Linked DNA regions of Homo sapiens: region 2 is linked to region 1. The links are contacts of gene promoters, found by promoter capture Hi-C in human tissues and cell types (Jung and others, 2019). All regions are on one chromosome and are shown on one strand. The core of a region is centred on a gene start or on the middle of the fragment in contact, and the rest is flanking DNA. Distances in the headings are between cores, read along the strand shown.

What was found. The method cuts DNA at HindIII sites, captures the fragments that hold promoters and counts their contacts. A contact is called where the count stands out against the background at its distance.
Region 2: a fragment that was not itself captured here is called in contact with the fragment with the promoter of TPPP in region 1 in 14 of the 25 tissues and cell types used here (IMR-90 fibroblasts, aorta, bladder and 11 more).

Annotation. Positions count from the first base shown.
Region 1 is chr5:689,520-696,499 of GRCh38, reverse strand. TPPP (tubulin polymerization promoting protein) reads left to right here and starts at 3,148. Exons shown (of 4, transcript NM_007030.3): 1 at 3,148-3,222. It overlaps LOC101929898 (a long non-coding RNA gene), which reads right to left and starts at 2,960. Exons shown (of 2, transcript XR_925675.4): 1 at 2,778-2,960; 2 at 1-2,419. RefSeq lists enhancers at 1,348-2,226, 3,140-3,722 and a silencer at 2,896-3,145. The HindIII fragment of the contact is 24,608 bases long and covers 1-6,980 here.
Region 2 is chr5:795,263-802,242 of GRCh38, reverse strand. ZDHHC11 (zDHHC palmitoyltransferase 11) reads left to right here. Exons shown (of 13, transcript NM_024786.3): 12 at 1,079-1,143; 13 at 5,663-6,638. The coding sequence ends at 1,136. Among named protein-coding and RNA genes, the nearest start is that of ZDHHC11B, 14 kb to the right of the region's middle. The HindIII fragment of the contact is 6,222 bases long and covers 699-6,920 here.

The DNA.
Region 1 (6,980 bases), core at 1,899-4,398:
GCTGTGGGACACACCCCTACGGGGCCCAAAGAAGCTGCTCAGCCTATAGGCCGTCAAAGGACATTCAGCTGCCAGGGGTGGGTGGACACCTGACAGGTCCAGCTGCAGGACACCTCAGTGCTGGGACCCGGCATCCTCACACTTGGCCTCGGAGGCCTTTTCATGTCTGCTGCTGTCCGCGTGAGTCCATTGCTCCCCCCGCTCCCCGTGCCTCTGTCTTCAGCATGGGGCCTCCCAATGGACCTGGGCTCCTGTCCTGGTCTCCCACTGCAGACCCAGATGGCCCAGCATCTCCCACCATCCCTTCCACCCAGGGCTTCCAGTGCTACCCACCATGCTGTGTCTGCTCTTCCCAACCTCCACTGTCAGCCTGAACCTCTACCCACAAAACCCAACCCCAAACCCAGGCAGGGGTGGGCGCGGGTGCCAGGCAGCAGGGGCTTGTCCCGGAGAGCTGTCCTCCTCCTATGTGACAGCTGCCTGGCCTGGTGCTCCCAACTGCGGACGCAGAACCTGTGCAGGAAGCCGTGGAAACAGCTACAAGCAGGCAGGTGTCCCGGGGAACGCTCCTGGTCACTGACACGGTAACACAGGTGGAGCTGGGAAAAGCATTGGTGCTGGGGTGGTAGTGACCCCCACCCAAGAAAGTCACATTGACCCGGAACCTCAGAGTAAGACCTTACGTTAAAATAGGATCTTTGTAGATGTAATTCGATTAAAGATCTTGAGATTATCCCAGCTTCTCCTGGCGGCCCTTAAATCCAGTGACAGGTGTCCCGATAAGCAAAGGAAGAGACAGACACACTAACTCGGGGGAGGAGGCCCCGTGAGGACAGGGGCAGAGGTGGAGCCATGCGGCCACCACCCAGGACCGCCTGGAGCCACAGAAGCTGGAAGAGGTGGGAACCTCCGGAGCGCACAGGCCTTGATCTCGGACTTCTGGCCTCCTAAGCCGTAAGAGGAAAGCCCTGTTGTTCAACCCATTTGTAGTGATTTTCTAAGGATCCCCAGGAAACATCTTATAACGGGACACTTGGCGTGGATCACATCATTGGCTGTGAGTCGGTTTTCAGTAATTGCAGGGTTAATGGAGGCTGTCCAGGTCTGGCAGTGGAGCAAGAGCTGGGGGCCAGGAAGGGCCACCGGACGGGCAGCCATGGCCAGGTGAAGAGCCTGGAGTCCCGAATCAGGATCCACCTCTCCCTGCTGAGCAAGATCCTGTGCCCCTGTTTCTGGTGATTTTGTAAGTGCTGACTGAACCGACTGTCGCTGGGAAATAACACACCCGTGACCCCAAGCCAAAGTTTCACCCACAGACAAGGAAACAGACTCCATGAACACGCCGACTCCCGACGGTAGAACCGGGGTGCCCACCCCAGCCCCGGTCACTGTGTGTCCTGCGCAGGGGCCAGGGCAGCCCAAGGCTCAGCTCTGTCCTCCTGCCCAGACCTCGCTCAGCCCCCTGGACGCCGCCCCGCGCCCGCTGCCTCTCCTCTCCTCTCCTCCCAAAGGCTCCAGGACCATGTCTGCCTCTGAAGCCTGACGTTACCTCCCACTGCGATTTTATTGTAAACTCACTGCATTTATGTCAAGAGAGTTTGTACAGGTTTTGGAAAATGCACTGAAGAGTCCCCTTGTGCCTATTAGGACGGTAAGAACACACCAAGGAGAGATTATTTCATTATTTCTTTGATGCTGTTAGTAGGATCTACCCGAGGGGGAGGCACTCCGGGCTCCGCGGGACGAGAAGGCAGCCGAGCCCGCACCCGAGCAGGAGGGAAGCAGGAGCCGCAGCGTGGCCGCCGCACAGCTTCGGGGGTCCCCCGACTTCCCAGCTGCGAGTGTGGAATTTCTCAGGAGAACTAGACAGAAGCCCATCTCTGGGCAGCACTGAGTGGAAGGAGAAACCACAGGAGAGGAGAGGAAGTGTGGGGCGCGGGACCACCGTGGGGTGGGTGGGGGCCAAGCCGCCGGGCTGTGAGGCCTCAGCACCCCCTGCCCAGCACCCAGCACCCCAACTTCCCCTTCTGCCTTTGCGGATTCCAGGGCCTGCTGGACACCTGGTGCAGGGACAGAGCCGGGGCTGGGGGAGGAGCTCAGCTGCACTAGAGTCCAGCTGGAAGAGTCCAGCTGAAAGTCACCAGAGGCACCCCTTCCTCCTGGGGGGCTGCGCCTCGGCCTCCTCCAGGGCAGGTGCCCCTATGCCCCTCAAGTCCCAGCACCCAGCACCACAGAACCGCCCTGTCATCTCGGCCCCGGAACCTTGTGGGGAGCCAACTCCTGCGGAGGGCCGGGCAGCCCCGGGCGGAATGAGCCCCCTCCGCAAAGCCTGTCTGGGGAGCGGGGGAGGGGCGGCAGGTGCCCGGAGAAAGGCGAGATTGGAAGAGCGGCCGGGATGGTGGCGCTGCATACGGGCGACCTGCAGGGAGAACGGAAGCTGAGGCCGGGGTCAGGGGTGCGCGCTCCGCTCCTCCACTCCTGCGTGAAGGGCGGCCCACTCCCGAGCAGCTGCGCTGGGCGCCCGGCACGGACCCGTCTCCCTGCTCAGGTCGATCCCCGGCCGCGCTGCCCCCACCTGGAAGCCCAGTCCCCTGGGTGCGCCCCGCCTTGGGGTCCGAGCACCCTCACAGCCCGGCCCTGCCGCTTCCCTGCACCGTCTGCGGCTCCTTAAAGAACTGGGCGCGGTCGGGGCTCGCCCCGCACCGTCCTCGAGGCCCCGCCGCCAACCCACCCCACCCCAGGAGGCCGCGGCCGCGCTCATCCATCCCCCGCCGCACCGTCAACGCGCGTCCTGCGGGGCGGAGAGATCGGGGTCCGGTCGTCCCCGGGGGGCCCCAGAGCCAGGTGAGGGGCCCCGCCGCCCCCTGCCCAGCGGTTCCCACGACCCGCGGGTCGGCCGCGCCCTGCGCTGAGCGGATACCCGGCGGTCCGCGGGGCCTGAGCAGAGTCGGCCTTGTAAGGCAGAGGTCTCGGTGCGCCCGCGCGTCCCCGGGCCGGGTGGGGCGGCGGGGGCGGGGCTGCCAATGAGCGCGCGGGGCGGGACGCTGGGCGGGCGCCGGACGCTGGGGGCCGGGGGCGGGCCCGGGACCGGGCTGGGCGGGGCTGGGCGGTGCTGGGCGGGACGGGCGGGCGCGGGGCGGCGGCTGGAGAGCTCCGCTGAGCACCGGGTCGCGCGCGGCCGAGTCGCGGAGGCGCCTCCGCTGCAGTCGCTGCGTCTCCAAGGTAAGCGGGCGCGGGGCTCGGTCCCGCGGGCGCGGCGCGGGGGGCACCCGGGGGCGGAGACTGGGCCCGTCAGCCCCAGCAGCCACCTGCGCCGCAGCCCCTGCCCCCCGCGCTCCCCCGAGCCCCCTTCCCGGACCGCCCCGCGCGTCCCTGAGCCCCCGGATTGGGATGCCCGGAGTTCGGCGCTGCGGGCTCGGTGCGAGGACGCGACGGGGAGGCTTTGCAAAGGCCGCGAGCGGGGGTCACCGTCGGCCGCGCCAGGGACAGGTCTGTCACCGTCTCCGGGCCCTGTGCCTGGCGCTTTGGCCTTTCTTCGCGGCCACGGACGCCCCTGCAGCCCTTCCCTCCAGACCCTCCCCAGCTCGGGACTCGAACCGTTTCCCTATTCCCAGGCCTAGGGGGCCGCCGGTGTGAGGCGTGGGAAATTAGGGCGTGGAGGGCTGGAATGAAGTCACTGCCCGCAGCAGGTTTTGAGAGATCCCTGGCCACAGAAACGGCCCATCTCAGGGTCCTGACACCACCGCGTCCTGGCAGGTGGGGCTGTCAGACCGCCCCCCGCAGAGCCTCCAGCTGCCCCGGGTCTTGGCTACTGTCCGCGGGCCTGTGGCGATGGAGAGGCGCTGCCGGGACACCTTCCCGCACCCCTGGGAGCAGCGCCCGAAGATCTGAGGAGCCCTTTATTCTGCGGTTTCGGTTACGTAAACGGAGCCGAGGGAGGTGAGAAGCCTGTCCCTCCCGGGCAGTGGCGGGGCTGCTGTTTTGATAAGGGTTTTGGGGGGGCTGTTGTCTTGATGGGGGTTTGGGGGGCTGCTGTTTTGATAGGGGTTGGGAGGCTGCTATTTTGATACGGGGTTGGGGGCTGCTGTTTTGATAGGGGTTTGGGGGGCTGCTGTTTTGATAGGGGGTTGGAGGGCTGCTGTTTTGATAGGGTTGGGGGACTGCTGTTTTGATAGGGGGTTGGGAGCTGCAGTTTTGATAGGGGTTTGGGGGCTGCTGTTTTGATAGGGGGTTGGGAGGCTGCTGTTTTGATAGGTGGTTGGGAGGCTACTGTTTTGATAGGGGGTTGGGGGGCTGCTGTTTTGATAGGGGTTGGGGGCTGCTGTTTTGATAGGTGGTTGGGGGCTGCTGTTTTGATGGGGTCTGGGGGGCTGCTGTTTTGATGTGGGGTTGGGAGGCTGCTGTCTTGATGGGGGCTTAGGGGGGCTGCTGTTTTGATAGGGGGTTGGGGGCTGCTGTTTTGATAGGGGTTGGGAGGCTGCTGTTTTGATAGGGGTTGGGGGGCTGCTGTTTTGATGGGGTCTGGGGGCTGCTGTTTTGATGAGGGGTTGGGGGCTGCTGTTTTGATACGGGTTGGGGGGGCTGTTGTCTTGATGGGGGTTTGGGGGGCTGCTGTTTTGATGGGGGTTTAGGGGGCTGCTGTTTTGATGGGGGTTGAGGGCTGCTGTTTTGATGGGGGTTGAGGGCTGCTGTTTTGATGAGGGTTGGGGGCTGTTTTGATGGGTATTTGGGGGCTGCTGTTTTGATGGGGGTTGGGGGCTGCTGTTTTGATGGGGGTTGGGGGCTATTGTTTTGATGGGGTTTGGGGGGCTGCTGTTTTGATGGGTATTTGGGGGCTGCTGTTTTGATGGGGGTTGGGGGCTGCTGTTTTGATGGGGTTTGGGGGCTGCTGTTTTGATGGGGGTTGGGGGCTATTGTTTTGATGGGGGTTGGGGGGCTGCTGTTTTGATGGGGTGTTGCGTTCCCTCTCAGTGTCACCGCTGATCCACCTGGCATGTTTATTGGCTCTTCTGCTTGCAGGGCCCCTGGGGGACCGATAGAGGACTGGGCCCCTCCGCCCACCCCGGCCACCCCTCCCCGCCTGACTTCTCAGGGGGAGAGGTCTCCCCCCACGCCCAGCCAGCCCCTGCCCCTGGGAGGTGACCCAGCTCCCTGTGGCCTGGGACTAGGAGATGGGGCTGGACCAAGGCCGGGAAGGGGCAGGAAGTGGAGGGGAGTGAGGCAGCTGCAGCCTGATGCCGCCGCCTTGAACTGGGCTCTCGCGCCTGTCAGCCGCTCGGTGCCAGCGCCTCCCCACCACGTGATCCTCGGAGGGCCTGTGGGGGAGGGGCGGGCTCCCGGAGCGGCTGCAGAAGGCGAGCTCCAGGAGGGTGTGTGCGTTTTCCCGGGAGGGGTCTGCAGCTTTCATGGTTTCTAAACGGATCTCTGATTCAGAAAGGCGCCGGCATGAACTCGCTTTGCATCTTCACAAAACATGAAGTCATGGGGATTGGACCGCGTGTGCGTGGAGGAAGCTCCGCTGGTCACTGGCTGCGTTTTAATCTTACAGCTGCGGTTGGTCTATCTTCCCGAATTCCCTGAAGTTGCAATAAATGTTTTAGCGATTATACGAGGTTATAAATGCTCGTTGTGGAAATGAGCATAGAATGCTCACAGAAATGGTCAACAGGGGCTTCCTTTTGACCCCCTACCCTAATTTGCAAGCCTCACACTGGCAGTGGCTGCCCTAGGCCTGGGAATCGGTAAACAGGGTTCGTGCACCGGGCTGGGCAGGGCCCGGAGGGAGGGGCCGCAGGGGGCTTCCGTGGGCACAAAGGCCAAAGCGCCACACGCAGGGCTCAGGAGAACTTCCTGAAGAAAATTAGGATCACCCATCGCAGATGGAGACTGGGGAGCTCTCTGGAGAGTCAGGCAGTCTGTTCCCTCCCAGGCCTGTGGGAGCCACCCCCTGCAGAGGACGCAGAGAATTAAAAGCTTCCTCGGGAGAGGCCGTGCCAGCAGAGAGCCGAGTCTATTTATAGCTGTTGGTGAGACAGGGGGAGTGTGTGAGAGGGATGCCATCTGGGGCTCTTGGGGCCCCCAGGCCAGTGCTGGTCAGCGCCCTGCAGTACCTGGCCCAGCCTGGTGCCCTCAGGCAGAAGCGCCTTCGGGAAAACACTCTGGGTGAGGAGAGTCGCTCAATGCCTCCGCCTGGGCTGGGGGAGCCAGAAGGCTATGCCCAGGAGGGTTGTGGCCGGGTGTCTAGTCCATCTGAGCCCACAAACCCTCAGCCAGGAGCCAGGATCAGGCAGCAGAATCTACACACGCCTAGTTCCTACTGCTCGAGCAAAAGGTGTTTCCTGGGAAGGAAGGGGTGGAGCTGCCTGGGTCAGGCCCAGCCACATCTGGGGCTCAGGCCTTGTCCCCAGCATCCACGAGCCAAACCCCAAGCTGCCCTGCGTGGATCCTCCTCCTAGGGAGACCAGCTTCTTCTTGGTGTGTGTGTGTTTGGGGTTGCCACAGGGCCATAACCCACTGCATCCCCCTGATAAGATCTTCCACCCAGGGCAGCCCCCACCCAGGGCAGCCCCCACCCAGTTGATCCCCCACCCAGATGATCCTCCACCCAGATGATCCCCCACCCAGATGATCCCCCACCCAGATGATCTGCCACCTGGATGATCCCCCACCGGGGACATCCCCCACCCAGGGCAGCCCCCACTCAGATGATCCCCCACCCGGGGCAGCCCCCACCCAGATGATCTCTCACACAGGGCTTCCCTCCTAGGGCATCTGCAACAGGCTTTCCCCCTAAGGTGACATCCCCCTCCCAGGACATCCACATCCCAGAGCCACCCCCTCCCAGAGCCACCCCCTAGGCCATTCCTTCACCAAGGCTCCACCACCCAGGACAACCCCCACAAAGATTCCCCACCCAGAGCATCCTCCCCACATGGCATCTCCACCCAGGGTATTCCCCCACCCAGGGCATGTTCCCCACA
Region 2 (6,980 bases), core at 2,560-5,059, 110 kb before region 1:
AATAATCTGGTGGCAGACACTCCCATTGTTGCCTATGGTTTGGGAAGTCTTGCAGCAGCAGTCACTGCCTGGCCGCTCAGCCTACAAGTCCCCCAGCTAATCACCCCATCAGGAGCCCTGCCCAGCTGAGCATCCACTGCTCCTCTGTGGCAATTCCTGGGGGTCTCTTCCAGGTTCTGCAGCACACTCCTGACCATGGCCTTCTGCATCAGCTCCCATTTGCATCCTTTCCTTCTAGGAGTCATCATTTCTGATCCAAGAAAGGTTTCCCTCTTGCTTTTCTTTGATGTAATGTCCTTACTCATTTATGGATACATTTATATCCTGATTATAATTTTTAAGGATTGGATCAGAGAAGGGAGACTATAGCATGTGATGGATACGCAGTTTTGATTTAGAAGTCTCCTAGTGACTATTTTGCTTGTGGGTCTTTCAAAATCTTTCAAAGCAAAATTTTGCGTGTTTCTGGTGTCTAATTCCCGACACATTCAGCGTTGCAAGTTAAGCCCGATCTCCAACCCTCTGCAAAGTCTGGGCAGCAACACGGTCACTTCTACTGCCAGCTGGCCAGCACACATAAACAATCAAGTCATTAGCTGGCTGGGGTAGTGTAACATCAGGGCAGAGAACAAAACACCTGTACTCAAGATGTGGGTATAAAAACACTTAAGGCTCCCTGATAGCCAGAACTCATCACAATCAAGCAAGAGTTGTGAGAAGAAGGTACCAGGCATGAGCTGACCTCCTGTGGGCCCCACATTTCCCCACTTTTCATGCTGGAAATCCAAACAAGCCTCCTTGGCTACCACAAGACCCTCTTATTTATCAGGGAAAGCACACTTTGTCTCTATATCAGCACACATGCAGAAGAAAAAAGCAACATTCTTTCAGCAGTGCAGTCATGTTACTGTTTTCACAAAAATGAAGGCTCTGAAACTCAGAGAGGTGAAGTGATTGCCCACGTCACAAGCTAATCTCTAAAATGTACTCTTGTTTACACATTTTGTGCACTTTGGCATTATAACAAGTATTACATCATACGTTCTCTGTTGTTTCTCTTTCTGAATATTGCAAACAGGCTGCAACAAGAAACAACAGAGCCCATGAAAACTGACAGTGCTGAAAGTGAAGACTGAGATTCAGGTAAGATACGTGGCAGTGCGGGTCATGTTGAAATCTACCCAAGTTTGGTTCTCTAGAGAGTGAAATATCTTCTTTAAAAAATCACCAGTGCAAACTCAAGGGCTGGGCTGCTTGTCGTTTGTCTCTTGATGTCAACAGTAACCCCAGAACAGGAACCGTGTGTCCATCTTTAGAAGTAGTGCATGGCAGCCGAGCTGTGAGAGTATCAATTCATCTTTATTTTCTAGGCAGTAAACAATGTATAGATTGAACACCTCTCATTTCCATACTTGCCTTTAAGTCTAAACTAAGAATTATTTTCACCCAATTGTACTGATCTAAGAACTTTAAATAATGAACACCTGCCATTTTAAGATGGTCTCTGATTAGATGCCTCTGACCGTACCTATCCCTGCTTTCTGCTTAAACATTTAGGACGATCCATAGAATGCAGTGAAATTTAACCGTGAAACAAATGATCATTTACTTCCAGAATCAGGGGGAAAGTTTACTCACTAGAAGGCTAAAGGAATTTGCTATCAGGCACACACATGAGTTGGCAAACCATCCAGACATGCTCTGCCAGCAGAATAGGTAGACTGAGCACTTGAAAACAGAGGGGCATGCTCTCCCTCCACTACTATATCCCCTCAGCTAAGAAACATGAGACATGATTGTACCTTAAAATGAGACTGCAACCCTTTCTCTAAGGTGTTACCTTGGCTTTCCAAGGCAAAGCAAGCTGCTTTACACCCTGAAGTCTACCGTTCAGTACCTGCCTTCTCACAATGCTTCAGAGAGGCACCTCCCAAAAGCTAGCTGGACAGGAAAAGGGTATAGGGCATACTGTATCCTGAAAGGCATGATCCATACAAGAAAAGCCCTATGATCGGGCAAAACATCAAAAGCCCTGGTATCCTCAGAGTTCCTGTGCTCCAGGCAGCTTCCCACAGCCGTCTGGGTGCCATAGAGCCCTGAGGAAGGTCAAGGTCTCCCAGCAGCACAGCCCTGACCAGCACCCTAGAGGACAAGAGGGTAGGACTCATGGTTCTGTGTATATCCTGTGAAAATTTTGCAGAACTGGGAATAGACATCACCTTGAAAGCCCAGAGAGACAGCAAACCTGTGAAAATTGTTCTCTAGAAAAAAAAGTGTTTGAGATGCATAGCACAGGGTCTTCATGAGGCAGGAGTCAAAATCATAATTGGAGACAAGTTGAGATGAGAAGACAAATCCACTGAGATTGAAGGGGAGATGAAAGAGATGTGGAAAGATTGCAAGAAACTGACCATGAAGTTGCAAAATTAAAATCTTTCAAGGAAAGAAGAAGTAAATTGGTGCAGTAAAAAATTGTCTCAGTGGTATGGAGGACAAACTTAAGAAGCTACAACTTGAGCTCATGTAGAATGTCTATAGAACAGCGCCTGAGTCTACGTGCTCCTCCCACCATTTCCTTTGTGTGGAACAGTGAAATGGCTGAGGAGTAGCAGAGCCTGAGAAGTGGAGCTGGACGCTTGGCCGAAGCATCAACTTGCAAATAATCTGCAAAAACTGACAGCTTCTGTGGACATCCTTCCATGTGAGCATCAAATGGAGCTGTGGACTCCCTTCCGTGAGCAACAGTGACTAACAGTGATGGACACAAGGCGTGTCTTAGTCTGTCAGTGTTACTACAAAGAAACACTTGAGCCTGGGTAATTTATAAAGAAAAATCGTGTATTTGGCTTATGATTCTGATGGCTGAAAAGTTGAAGATTGAGCTCTGCATGTGGTGAGGGTCTCAGCCTTCTTCCACTAACAGCAGAAGGTGAAGGGAGCTGACATGTGCAGAGATCACATGGAGAGAGAGGAGGCGAAGGGCTGGGGGAGGCTCCAGGCCCTTTTCGACAACAAGGTCTCATGGGTTCGTTAGAGCAAGAAGTACTTGAGCATGAACTCACTCCCTTCAGAGGGAGGGCATTAATCTGTTCATAGGGGGTCCAGCCCCATGACACAAACACGTCCTATGAGGCCCCATCTCCAACAATGGAGATCAAATTTCAACATAAGGTTTGGAAGGGTCAGATGTCCAAACCACAGCAAAGAGCAAGCTCCCAGGGCAGAGCTTGATTAGTGACTGAAACAAGATGGCTCAGTGTGTTTTATAGAAGCCCAAACTCAGCCAACCACAGCTTGTCTGCTGAAGTTGCAGATAATTTCAGGTCACATTCTTTATCATTTGCATGCTCTTTATCATTTGCATTATTTTTGAATGAGTCTAAATCATTTCAAAAGCATCTGGTCTTCCTAGGGTGCTTTCGAAATGAATTAGCCTCATTCAAAAAAAAAAATATTCACCACTAAGGTTTTAAACAGCAAATGTTCGCTGTGATAACGTCTTAGAGTTGTGAATTACTGTAGACCACACAAAACACTTCTTCAGTATTACACCTTACCCCTCCAAAGTGCCTGTGGTGTAGGAGTCAGTCACTCCTATCTCTAGAAAAGGATGGTGGCTAGGAGAGTTGTCTGATTTTTACATAATCCCAGAAAGTACTTAAGGTAGATTTTAAAGATCGTGGAATACAGACCGATGGCATAAAGGGAAAAGGGAGGGGAAAGAAAGAAGGAGTGAAATGAAGCCAGAGGTTCTAGTCATGTGGCAAGTCACTTACAAGGATCGGACAATGCTCCGAAACTGAGCAAGTTAAGGGTGTGTGTGTGCACGCGTGCGCGTGTCCGTGTCCATGTGAGTGCGAGTGTAAATATTCTTAAAGGCATTAATGAACTGAGGAGACATAAGGAATTCTCAGGCCATGGTTGAAGGCACAGAGGAACCCAAAGAGAAATCTAGTGGGGAGTGCAGCTGGCCTTTGCCCTGAGGGCATTTGTGAAACCTGGTCAACTTCATTTTCACCTTTTCAAGAGATACAAATGGAAGATCAAGCTGAGAGCACAGCCAAAATGGCAAGCCAATCAGTAATCTCTTAAAGTAAGGGCCCCCAGAGGGCGGTACCCTCATTGCAGTGGCAAACTAGAGGCAACTCACTTCTCTACCCGCAAAGGAATCAGGGGGGATCAGTCATTTCAAGCCCTAGAGCTGAAAGAAAAAGAGAAAAATCACTGCCGAGTATTTGGAGCAACAGGTTCTCCCTAAATTTGTGTGAGGTGGGTGACCAAAAGTCCCCAAGCTGAGAATTTAATAGAGAGTGATTCTGAACTGGTCATTCCCAGGAGCCAAGCATAATTCCTTCTGAGTAACAAACCTTCATCCTAAGCCTCAAAGATTTCTCAAAAATAAAACTACAAAGCAAAGAAGCAATTCTCAATGAAAAACAACCCACCACATGTGAAAATAAAGCACTGAGTGAGAAGCAGCAGAAAACGTAGTAGAAACAGACACATAAATATTTCAGATGTTGAATTTGGCAGACCAAAACATGAAGAAAACACAAAGTCAGAAATATCTGAAGAGAACAGAAAACTATTTTTTAAATTACAAAGCAGATATGGAAAAACACCAAATAAAACTTATGAGAAATATCACTGATTTTTTTTAAAGTGGATGGATTTAACAACAAATTAGACAGTTGAAAAGTGAATTAGGGAACTAGAATCTAGAGCTGAAGAAATTACTGAAATAGATACAAAGTGACAGAAACGCAAAATGTGAAAAAAATGAATGAGAATACAGTTTGAAGGCTATGTTATGTTTAGAGTCCTAGAAAGAGAAAAGAGAGAAAATTGGGAAGATGTCATATTTAAGGAGATTTGGCTGAGAATTTGCCAACATTGTTAGAAGACACCAACTCACAGATTCATAAAGCCCAGTGAATCCAAGAAGGGGAAATAAAATTCTAGACACAACATAATTCAATTGATAAATGCCGTAAACAAAGAATATATATATATATACACACACACACATATGTATTTAGACAGAGTCTCGCTGTGTCACCCAGGCTGGAGTGCAGTGGCCCAATCTTGGCTCACTGCAAACTCCGCCTCCCGGGTTCACAACATTCTCCTGCCTCAGCTTCCTGAGTAGCTGGGCCTACAGTTGCCCACCACCACACCCAGCTAATTTTTTGTATTTTTAGTAGAGACGGGGGTTCACTGTATTAGCCAGGAAGGTCTCGATCTCCTGACCTCATGATCCACCCGCCTCGGACTCCCAAAGTGCTGGGATTACAGGTGTGAGCCACCACACCTGGCCAAAGAAAATATTTTTTAAAATATCTAGTGATAAAAGATGGGTTATCTTTCAAAAGGATGTATTTCCGAAGAAGAACAATAGAAAATGGCCTCTGTCGGTGATGCACTCATCTCTAAGCTTTCTGGAAGGATGGGGAGGGCAGGAGCCTGGCTCGGGAGGACTCTCACTAGACCCAGCTGGGAGTGGGGCTCTGTGTCTAAGCCAAGGTGATGATCCACCCAGAAACCAGCCCTGCCTCTCCAGGCAACAGGTTGGGGTAAAAGCCACCGGTGGGTTTCCATCACAAGTAGAGCTGAGCTTCCTCCCTGGTGGCTGCTCAAAGAGTGACTTTGTTTTGTCCTGCAGGAGCTCAGGTGCCCCTGTGATCCAGGTCTTCTACCCTGAAACCCCACCCTCCATCAAGGTCCTGCCTGTAGAGTCTACCTTGCAAAGCCTCCTGCTCCTACCCATGCTACAGGCCAGGAACCAGAGCCCATCATCTCAGAGGCCCCTGGATGTCCTTCGAAGGAACCAGGACCCTCAGAGCCCAGCATCCATCTCTGTCATCATCTTCATCACACCCAAAGAAGAGCCAGCCTTGCAGGAGGGTTTACATCTCCAGGAAGATGGGCTGCCAGCAACTGCAGAGGATGCAGCCACCTGCTTAACTGTGCTGTCCAGCCAGCCAGCCAGCTGCAGGGCCTCTTGCTGCTTAAGAGCTGATGGGCCGGGCATGTTGGCTCACACCTGTGAGCACAGTACTGGGAAATGGGAGCACAGTACTAGGAAATGGGAGCACAGTACTGGGAAATGGGAGCACAGTACTGGGAAATGGGGGCTCACAGCACTGCAAAATGGGAGCACAGTATTGGGAAATGGGAGCACAGTACTGGGAAGTGGGAGCACAGTACTGAGAAGTGGGAGCACAGTACTGAGAAATGGGAGTACACTACTGAGAAATGGGAGCACAGTACTGGGAAATGGGCATACAGTACTGAGAAATGGGAGCACACAGTACTGGGAAATGGGAGCACAGTACTGGGAAATGGGAGCCCACAGTACTGGGAAAGGGGAGTTCACAGTACTCGGAAATGGGAGCATAGTACTGGGAAATGGGAGCACAGTACTGGGAAATGGGAGCATAGTACTGGGAAACCCCAGACCTGGATTCTGAGTTTTTCAGCCTAGCCCAGACTTCTTATCTTAGTAGACAAAAAGAGTCAATACCAGAGAACCAGAGGCATCCTCTGTATTTTAATGAACTCTGCATTTTAATCTGTTTAGTAGTCATTTTTTAAAAGATAATCAGTTTTCCAAATATATCTATAAGTTACTACGTGCATTGGGCTGTTTTTGTGTTTCTGTAAAGAAATACCTGAGGCTGGGTAATTTATTTAAAAACAGGTTAAACTGGCTCACAGTTGTGCAGGCTGTACAGGAAGCATGGTGCTGGCATCTGCTTGGCTTCTGGTGAGTCCTCAGGAAGCTTCCGTCATGGCTGAAGGTGGGGTGAGAGCCAACACATCATGTAGTAAGAGCAGGAGCAAGAGAGAGTGGTGGGGTTGAGGGAGCACCATGCATTTTTAAATGACCAGATCTCAAGTGAACTACCAGAGCAAGGACTCACTCATCACCAAGGGGATGGCACTAAACTATTTATGAGGAACCTGCTCCCATGATTCAA